Regions from separate parts of the Homo sapiens genome. Here region 2 is linked to region 1. The links are contacts of gene promoters, found by promoter capture Hi-C in blood cells and fetal thymus (Javierre and others, 2016). All regions are on one chromosome and are shown on one strand. Each heading gives the region's core, a stretch centred on a gene start or on the middle of the fragment in contact. The rest is flanking DNA. Distances are from core to core; before and after follow the strand shown. Region 1 holds the start of SHC1 (SHC adaptor protein 1). Region 2 holds the start of DENND4B (DENN domain containing 4B).

Evidence for each region. Contacts are between HindIII fragments. The CHiCAGO score rates a contact against its expected background, and 5 or more counts as called.
Region 2: the fragment with the promoter of DENND4B here is called in contact with the fragment with the promoter of SHC1 in region 1 in 1 of 17 cell types (total CD4 T cells); the score reaches 5.3 in total CD4 T cells.

Annotation. Positions count from the first base shown.
Region 1 is chr1:154,968,293-154,973,330 of GRCh38, forward strand. It overlaps SHC1 (SHC adaptor protein 1), which reads right to left and starts at 2,455. Exons shown (of 12, transcript NM_001130040.2): 1 at 1,740-2,455; 2 at 1,086-1,156; 3 at 479-542; 4 at 203-322. The coding sequence starts at 2,234. RefSeq lists enhancers at 1,232-1,782, 1,783-2,333. The HindIII fragment of the contact is 11,130 bases long and covers 1-5,038 here.
Region 2 is chr1:153,943,947-153,948,984 of GRCh38, forward strand. It overlaps DENND4B (DENN domain containing 4B), which reads right to left and starts at 2,772. Exons shown (of 28, transcript NM_014856.3): 1 at 2,355-2,772; 2 at 112-451. The coding sequence starts at 428. CRTC2 (CREB regulated transcription coactivator 2) reads right to left here. Exons shown (of 14, transcript NM_181715.3): 13 at 4,512-4,698; 14 at 3,729-4,383. The coding sequence ends at 4,163. RefSeq lists enhancers at 1,024-1,123, 1,444-1,493, 1,962-2,462, 3,274-3,343 and a silencer at 1,984-2,883. The HindIII fragment of the contact is 4,483 bases long and covers 979-5,038 here.

The DNA of each region.
Region 1 (5,038 bases), core at 1,205-3,704:
ATGCCATGTGTCAGGCAGCCTCAGGGCCCAGAACCCTGGTGCCCCAGTCTCATTCTCTGGGTTCCTTATCCCATATCCTCATTTCCTCCTTCCCTACTGGTCTCCTGCTCTCAAGCCCTCTTCCTAGATTTTGGCCTCCTAACTAGATCTCCCCTTAGCACCCCCATCAGTGTTTCTGGTCCGTCTGCCCACCTTCACCAACCTGTTTGCAGTCTGCGGCCATGAGGTTGAGGCTGCTGGTGGAGACGGTGAGAGTGATTGGCATTCCAGCAAATTTCAGGTTACTCCTCCCCAGGATAGAGCTGAGCGGGCGGCTACAGGGCTAAGGTAGGGCCCAGGGTCTCAGAAGGTGAGGGTTCCCAGCACAGGCAAACCACACTTTTGCCTCCTGGCCCTCTCCCCACATGCCCCACACTTGCCTCCCCACTGCCCCTCCACATTTCCCAGCAGCATCCCTATCCCCAAGGACCCCAAGTACCTTTCTCCTCCTTGTCGCCCCCTTAGCACCCGGCACAGCCTCACACACCAGACTGATGGCCTCCCTGGGGAAAGAGGGGTACTCAGACCCAGCGCCTGCCTGCCTGCCTCCCACTCAACTGGGGCTGCCACAGGGCTGGGGGAGGGGAAAGCCAGGCCAGACTCCCAGGGCACTCCAGGCTCTTTGTCATGGTGGATTGAATTAAGGGCCTTTAATATTTGATGACACTGAGAGGCCACTTCCTGGCTGATTGGGTTAGGGCCTCAATGGGTATAGCCCCACCCCCTTCCAGCTACCAAATGTCCCATTCCCTTCCCAAAGGCAGCAGCAACCTTCCATCTACCCCCCTTTTCTACTCCAGCTCCACCTGCCAGCTGCTTCTGCCACCTTCCCCACAACTCCCAAGGCTGGATAGGTAAGGAGGATCCGGGCCAAAGGGGCCTCCTTTCAGTAAGAGGCGGAATCACTACCTCAGCTTTCTCTCAATCCCCTTTACTACGCAAAGATCAGCCCCCAGCAGCAGCACCCAAGTGACCCACTCCCCTCCTCTGTTTCCCATGGCCTCACTAATCCCAGGACTCCCACAATCCACTCCCTCCCCACTAACCTGGTGACCTGAGTCCGGGTGTTGAAGTCCAGGGCACGCATTGACTGGAGGACCTCCACACAACCCATGTACTAAGGGGAGGGAGAAGAGGACAGCAGGTCAGCGGCTCCCCCACCCCAGCCCCTTCACAAAGGGCCCTAGGACTTTACCCATATGGTCCCTAAGGGAAGTAAAGAGGAAGAAGTTCTGCCCACTTCCCGTGGCTACATCCCACAACCAAGGTGAAAGACAACAGGGAATGAGGAGAAAAAGAAAAGGCAGGCTAGAAGGACCTCACACACTGGGGAGAGAGTTTGGAGGGGACCGACAGGCATTGGCTGGGATGGAGTGACAACTCCAGAAAGCGGGAGGAGAATGGAGGAAAGATCAAGAAGTCATTCATTCCAACACTTATTAAGAGCTTCTGCCATGCTGGGCATTGTGCTAAGCATGCCAGGGTGGGGGTGGGGGAGTGAAAAGAAGGAAGGGGGCCCAGGCAAAGCTGGAAGGGAAGGGGCTACAGAATCGGGGAAGGGATGAGAAAGGTTTAGGAAATAGGACACTGAAACGGGGTTGTTGGGGAACAGCAGGAAAAAAGAGATTCCGGCCAAGCTGGAGTGAGCATTAGAACTGGAGGGGGTCTGCGGGGGAATGGAGAGGAGGATGTTCACTCACCCGAACCAAGTAGGAAACCCCGGGTCCCATGACTTTGTCGTTGGGATGCAGCCAGCCCCGCGTGGGCTTATTGACAAAGCTCCCGTGGCGGGTCCACTCCTCGCCCCCAAGCTGGCCCCCTTCCACCCGAGTCCTGCGCCCGCCGCCTCCACTCAGCTTGTTCATGTCCTGGAGGAGGGGTAGGGGGCCTGAGTCTGGCATGGCTGCCCCTACGATCCCCTCCCCATCATCAGCTGCCCTTCCTGGCTCCCCCTTAGACCCTGGGCGCCCCCCAGCCGGGTTGGCCAGCCTCAGGTTGCTCATCCGGGGGAAGAAGGAGCACAGGGTAGTGGGACTATCGTCCCCAGGCAGAGGAGGCAGGATGGGCCCCAGGGATGAAGCTGATGGGGAAGGCAGCTCCTCCGGGGGGGTGGACCCAGAAGCCCCTTCCTCCAGCGATGACAGAGACTCATTCCGGAGTGGATTGTACTTGGGCTTGGGGGGCAGGAGATCCATAGTTGAGGTGAAAGAGGGGCTGCTGCCCAGCCTGGCCCCCCTGCCAGTTTGGGCAAGGGGGCCAGGCAGGGGGTATCCCCAGGCCCTTAGCCTGGTTGGACCTCTGTGGCCCAGGAGTCACAGAAGTCCTGGGGAGGGAGAGGGACAAGTGGCTTCCGCTCCCCAGCTCAGACCCAGACAGTTTCAGGCCCCATCCCCGCCCAACGTGGAGCCTCTTCTCTGGCTGAGAAGAGAACAGGCTGGACCCAGCGCTTCTGGCTCCTCCCCAGGGGCGGGGAGCTAAGGGGAGAGACCAATCGTGAGGACAGTGCTGACTCACAGGCTCAGAGGGGCTGAGCCCCCACCCCGCCCCAACCTCGAACTGGAGCAGGGGGTAGGGCTATCCAAGCCCCTCTCCCCTGCCCTATACAAACAACTAGTAATCTGGGGAGAAGTAAAGTGGGGGTGGGAGGGAAGGATGGAAGAGTGGGACGGAAAGGAAGGAGATAGGAGGTCTGGGTCACTCAAAACCGGACACACGCAGGCCAAAGGGGGCAGGAAGCCAGGCAGGAGTACAGGGGAATGAGGGAGGAAACAGAGGCAGCTGGGGGTGGAAAAGGGAGGAGATCTCAGAGCTCAGCATTTCCCTTCCTGTCCTGGTTGGACACTCGAATTCCCCCACCCTCTCTATGCCCGAAAGCTGGCTGGCCCCAGCCCAGGCCACCCCCAACCGCTACCCCATACAGTAAGCCTGGGCCATTAGCATCCTCTGCTACAGCAGCTGTGGACTGGAGCTAGCGAAGTGGGGATGGGAAGTAAGTGGTCCCAATGGATGCAGAGCAGGGCCAAGAGGAAGAGCAAAGCTGGTGAAAAAAGGGGAATAAAGTTCAACCTGGATGATACATCAGGAAGCTACCAGGCAAGAAGGGAACAAGAGGACATGCTGGTCACGGCTTGTTCTCTACGTATGCCATCTACCACACCAAGACCGATGGCTCATAGCCAAGCACTGTCCTGTCTCCCCTTTCCACAGGGCTTGTTAACACAGCACACTGTCAAGGGTGAGAATGAGGCAATCAGGTCCCCACTCCCACTCCAAACCACCCCAATTCACATCCCTCCTCTTACAGGGCCCTAAGCCCCACCAAAGAGCACAGCATCCTTCACACCAGGGAAGGAGCCTGGCTGGAGGAGGTGGAAGAAACAGTTCTCCAAGAGAAGTAGAAACTACAGGCCAGGAAGGGACAGAGAGATCAGAAGACACATCTGCGTCAATAAGGACAGGAGAAAAATAAGTACAGGAGAAAGGGGTGTCAGGAGAAGATGGGTTGAAGCTGGACACAGGGAACAGTCCCAAACCCATTCCTGCCACCCACGGCTTCCTGCCACTGCTCTTCCGGAGAATGCCACAGGCAAAGCTGGAAAGTGACCAAAAAAAAAAAAACAAAGATACGTATTCCTACCGGGCGCGGTGGCTCACACCTGTGATACCAGCACTTTGGGAGGCTGAGGCGGGTGGATCACCTGAAGTCAGGAGTTCGAGACCAGCCTGGTCAACATGGTGAAACCCTGTCTCTACTAAAAATACAAAAATTAGCTGGGCGTGGTGGCGGGCACCTGTAATCCCAGCTCAGGAGGCTGAGGCAGGAGAATCGCTCGAACCCAGGAGGCGGAGGTTGCAGTGAGCCGAGATCGAGCCATTGCACTCCAGCCTAGGTGACAAGAGCAAAACTCCGTCTCAAAAAAAAAAAAATACGTATTCCCCCCAGCTCACCTTGGAATTACCCTTAGATTTACTTCAGAGAATTAAAATATAGATAGATAATTATCCTGATTAACAACATTAACACTTGAAGTGTGTTAGATGCTGTGCTTAACTCTTACATCTCCCCTTAGTGCTCATTCCAGAAGAGCTTTGTCACTCTGCCAGCCAATCCTGAGAAGGAATTTTATCACTTCATTTCCAGCCAGCTCTCGGGCATAGAGAGAATGAGGAAAGGATTCCACCATAGCCTCACACCCCCAAAACACACAAACACACACTAGGATGTCCCTCATCTGTAGAGATGATGTTCTGTGGGAGCCTACAGTATCCAGAGCCAGGGAAGGACCAACGGGTGTGGGCGTTCGGAAGAAAAGAAAGACGTATGACTCTTGAAATTTACATAGGGAGAAAGGAGATTGCCTACTGGAAGTCCAGGTGATTGGGTGTAGGGGAAAAGCTGTGTGTGGCTTCGCAGCCCAACTGGGAGGAGGGGACAGGGGCGGGAAGTGGCAGGAAATGGCGAAAGCCTCAGGAATGTTTCCAGCAGGGAAGGCTGGGCAAACGGGGCCAGGAGGAATGCCCAGACAAGAACTCTGGTTAGGGGGAGGGGAAGAGACAGAGAAGTAGCGACTGAACTGTCCCTTAAAAAAAAAAAAATCAAACAACAAAAAGAGCACTATTATCTACCCCCACTCCAAACTACCGTTCTTCTGGTAGTAGAAAACTTTTGCTCATGTCACACCCACATGCCACACACCAACAAATCCATGGTCTTATCCACTTATGTCTAGGAAGGCCTAGAGCTACTTCTGGGATGAGGTTGGTCCTGGGAAGGGAAAGCCAGGAAGTGAGGCTGGGAGTCTGAGGGCAAGTCTCTCTCTCCCTCTCGTGCCAAACCCCACGTTCAGCCCTTTCAAATAGTTCTACCCTTGGAGGAGGTTAAGAAAGAGGAAAACGGGGACGGGCGCAGTGGCTAACGCCTGTAATCCTAACACTTAAGGAGGCTGATAAGGGTGGAGCACCTGAGGTCAGGAGTTCGAGGCTAGCCTAGCCAACATGG
Region 2 (5,038 bases), core at 1,522-4,021, 1.0 Mb before region 1:
ACCAGGCTCCCATCCCCATTGCCCTTCCCTTGTTCCATAGTCCTACCTCTCCCTGTCTCACTGGAGTCCCTCCCAGCCTCCCCTGGTGCCAGCATGGGTAGGGGCACACACCCCAGCTCAACGAGGGGGGGCTTGTCACGGCCCCTGCGGTAGCAGATGACGGGTTGAGTTCCACCCAGAAGTCCAGCACTGAGTTCCAAGGGGTGGCCCCCAGCAGAAGCCTGGATGCATGTGTAGCCCTGGGGCACTTCCTCGCCCAGTGCCCTAGCGATGACTGCCACATCTGTGATGGGCTCAGCTGGCCGGGGAGGGCGCAGGGGCCCACTGGGTTCAGGAACCCACGTTTCCTCAGGGATGGGTGCTCCGTTCCCTGCAAGCCCAGCTACCACGAAGTAATCCACCAGCCGGGGGGGCCGCTCCTCCGCCATGGCCCCCCCCTCACTCACTGCATCTGGAATGGTCAAGTGGGAGAGAGATGAAGCAAGGAAGGCTGGGGATGCCATGGCAACCAGGGTACCCTCTTGCTCCCCTCCTCTTCCTAGTCCTTCCAAAGAAAGGCAGGATAAGGGGTCGGCCAATCCTGAACTCTTCCCCCTGTGACATCACTGCCCACCACAGCTTCTTAAAGAGACCAGATCCCTCCCACTTAATGGTCCTGGCACTCCCCTCAAAGAACCTAAACTCCACCACACACAGCTAACCTGAGCTATGACATTCACATTGTCCATGTGTCCCTTTTAAAGGCTCACCAGTTATAACATCACAGAGATCACAATCTTTTTTGTAATAGCCTTCCATGACATCATTCATGCTGGCCATGACATCATACCAACCTTACAGTCTTTTCAAGGGTTTCTGACCTTCCTACTCTAGTTATGACACCATAAGAACCTTGTGATCCTGCCAATGTTCTTAAAGAGCCCACTCCTAGGTTTTTAAGAGGACCCCATGGGTTTCTGAGAAAGCCCACAAAACCCAAGCTTTAAGAGTCTTTTCAACGAACCCAAGTGTCCTTTCTCCTAGCTTAACTCCACCAATCTGGCCCAAAATCCAGTGTTCTCACACCTCCAGGATCCTTAGGTAGCTCGTTAGATCCAAAGCAGTTGTGAGAGACAAGTCCCGGCCATCCCACACCCTCCACCATGGAGCCCAGAGACAGAAACAGGCCCACAACAGCCTAGTTCTCACCTGCCTCCATGGCCCAACCCCGGGGAGTAGGAGCCCCAAGGGTCCTGAGGCGCCCCAGGGTGCAGAAGCTGGGAAAAAGCCTGGTGGGTAGCTCGCAGCAGGGGCCCAGAAGCGTGGGGGGTGCTTCAGAGGGGAAGGGAGGTTACTTCCTGAAACAGTGGAGGGGAAGCTGCAACTCAGAGGAAGTCAGCCTATGGGTGTGTGTGGTGGCGGTGGCGGTGGTGGGGTTACCATTGAAGGTGCCAGCACAGCATTACGCCAAGTTGGAATCTCAGACTATAGGATCCTGAGCAAGGCAGAGGAGGCTCAGAATGGTTCCAGGATGTGCAGTCCTGCTAACCTCCTGCTGTTCCCCCAGAGAACAGGGAATAAGGAATCTCATAGAGCCAGGCTGGCTTTCTTCATCACCTGGCCTCTGGACACACACACACACACACACACGCACACACACACGCACACACGTACACACACCAACCCCAGCTAAATTTAGACTCCACTTCTGGGAGGTAAAGCCAGGAGTCAGCGTCAGCCTCTTGATTTAATTCTGGGGCACAGACCTGTCCCTCATCCACTGAGGGCGAATGGGAGCCCTATGCCCAAGGCAGCAGGCAGAGGCCATTAGGTGGGACCTTCTGAGGGGCAAGTGGGTGGCACCCATCCGCAGGACCTGCGCACCGGGGCCTCCCCTCACCAAGCCAGGGAAGAGTCCTGCAGAAAGCAGCCCTTTCTCCCTAGGGAAGACAACGGGCACAGGGCCCACTCCGGGTCCCCACGCCCGCGTGCCGGGTGACGGGAAGTTCGGGTTGGGGCAGAGGGCGCGCCGAGGGGGAGGAGGCTGAGGAAGGAGCAGGAGGGCAGAGAAGCAGGCGCGCCGGCGGCCGAGGACGTGACGGCAGCAGCGCCGGCCGCCGCGTGACCCAAGCGGGAGGGAGGGCGGCTCCGACTCCGGCACCCACGGGAGCAGAAGGGGGTGCAGGAGGCCGGGCACGGCGAGCTAATTGCGGGAGGTGCCCTCCCCTCCACTTTCACTTCCCCAGGAGAGAGGAACCGGAACCAGATGTGCAGTGAGGGACAGCAGCTGGGGGCCATCCCCCACCCCGCCTGCCGCCCGCGCTCCCTCCTGCCCGTCCCCGCCTGCCGCCCAGCCCGGTCCAGCCCCTACCTGCCTGTCCCGCGCTTCCCGGCCGGCCGGCCCGCTGGCGGGTGGCTCGGAGGGCGAGCTGGCGGGCCGGCGGGCGGCGGGGCTACCCGGCCCCAGACATGGCGCACCCGACTTGGGCGCCGCTCCCGCCCGGGCAGTGAGTGAAGGAAGAAGAGGCGGCCGAGGACCGCAGAGCGCGGGGCGCAGTGGAAGGAGATCCGGGCGGTCCCCGCGTCCCCGCCGCGCTGCGCCACGCGGGGACTGTGCTGCCGCGCTGCTCGCTCGGCCGGCTCGGTCCTCCCAGCTCCCGCGGCGCCGGGGACCCAGCGTTCCTCCGCGCGCCCCGCTTTCTCTACTCCCCCAACCCCCGCTCCGGGCCGCGGGCGCCGCCGCTACCCCCACCCCTCCTCCTCGGCCGGCGGCCGTGACCCTGGCAAGCGTCTGCCCAAAGCCCAGCCGCCTGCAGCCCGACCCCTGGCGGCTGGGAGGGCCCCCTGCACCCAGGTAGCTTCCCACCATCCAGCCCGTGCCTCAGGACACTGACCCCAGGCGACCCAGAGGGCCGCGGCGCGCTCCCTTCCCGCCTGGGTCCTGCAGTCAGATGTGGCAAGCATGATGTGGGCGCAGGTGAAGTCCCGAAGGTCTAGTCTACGGGGACCCAGGTGGCTCCCCCTACTTCCAGGTTTAGGGCACAGGGCATTCCCTTTGGACCAGAACCAGAAGCTCTCAGTTCTCTTTTTTGAAAATGACAAGAGCTTTGGAAAGAGGAAGAGAGGCCAGGACTGCAGGGTGTGGAATAGAGCAGTGGAGGTGGGGGTAAGGTAACTGCGGGGCTCTACTTTTCTCACTATGCGGGTTGGGGGAGTGAGGGGTGCAGAGGCCCACACGGCTGGTCCAAGGGCTGGCAACCCAATCCAGAAAGAGAAAACCTTCAGAACATGCATGGCACTGAAGGATCTGTTTAATTAAAACTAAAATGAATGAGTGGTGAAGAGTGGAGAGGGTGAAGTGAATGCATGCATAGTGAGGGAGTGAGGATGAAGGCTTGCTTCCCTGAGACCTAGGAGCACTTCAGACCTGTGGGCTCAGCCAGCAATCACCTCCTTACCCGACTCACTGCCAGACCTAGGGTTGAGGAAGAGGAATAACTTGTCTGATCAGTCAAAGCCCCCATCTGATGCTGCAGCAGGGCCCTGGACAGACAGGAGGGCACATGAAGTGATTTCCTGCTGCCGTGGAAGCCTACATCCAGCTGGGTACAAATTCCGAGGCTGTGGGGCCCTTCCACAAAGCACAGTGGTGCTAAGAAGATGCAAAAAGCCTAATAGATAAAAAGACCCATGGCCCTATAACTCCCTAGATCCCCAGCCATGCCCCAAATAACTAACCACACCAAGGGTTTGATATGATTTTTTTATTAACATATAATAATATATTTAATAAAAAATAGTATCCACTCTGGCTCTCTCCTCCACTGCAAGGGGAAGAGTGGTGAGGAGGGGCTGGCACTGCCCACCCCTAGGCATCCGGAAAAGCCCTGCTTCCAGGGCTCCCCTCTACCCCTGCTTTCCAACAGGCTCTGACCTCCAGACAGACGGTTCAAAGTTACAAGTGCTTTAGGCCCTCCCTTGAGTTCCCCCAGGCCCATCCCTTGCGCAGAATTCAGGGGCCACCTGGACAAACCCCTTGCTTTTTCTCATTCTTGGCATCCTTCATTCATGCTAGAAAGAGGATCTGGGGACAGAGAGTAGAGTCTCTACCTGCCAGGGGGAAGGGAGGAAAGGAATGGTGGTGGGGGATGGGGCCAAGAAGAGGGATGGTGATGAGGTGCCCTCATTGGAGCCGGTCACTGCGGAATGACTCCTCCACAGCAGGATCAGGCAGCAGGGCACAGGGGTCACTCAGCATGTTTAGCCCTTCCAGGCCCAGTGGCTCCATGCGCAGCTCATCTTCTAGCCCAAGCCCTAGCTCCAATCCAGCTGCTGACACCTCAAAGCCAGGCACTCCGGCCAGGGCTGCTGCAATCTCCTTAGAGAAACCTGGAGAGGAGTCCCCTGTGGGTAGAAGAGACAGGTGAGGACCCCATGTCCTGTAAACTTTTCCAAGACCCCTCAATCTCCTACTCATTAGTGAATGTGTCACTTCCTCCTTCCATTTCCCATCACCACCCACCCCCATTCACCTGTGAGGATGATGTTAGGCCCTGAGCCATGGCGGGAACAGTGGGTCAAGTTCTGGTGGTTGAAGGTGTGGGGATCCTGGGGGCCACCCATTGGCCCCTCACCCCCTAAAAATCCAGGCCCTTCAGAAAAGCCAGGGGGATCCAGCACCAGGCTGGCTGATGGGCTCTCCATGCTGAACTGCTCCAGCTATAGACATACAGACAAATCTTTAGGAAGTAGGATTTAGAACTGGTGTCCTGCCTAGCCCTGCTAACATATCCCCTTTGCCCAGCAACCTTCATCCACCCCAGGAACAGAGGCAATGACAGAGGGAGGTGGCAGCAAGCAGAGCGACAGAAGCGAGCACGGGGCCCGAAGTAAGTATGGGCACCGTACCTGCTGGGCCAGAGCATGTGCATGCCAGGAAGAGAACGGGTCAAGGCAGAAGTCATCAAAGAGCAAGCTGAGCAGAAATAGAGGGGCAGGAGTAGGGTCAAACGCAGGAAGAGAGGAGCCCCAAGCTGGCAGTGCTATGTTACCTCCGGGG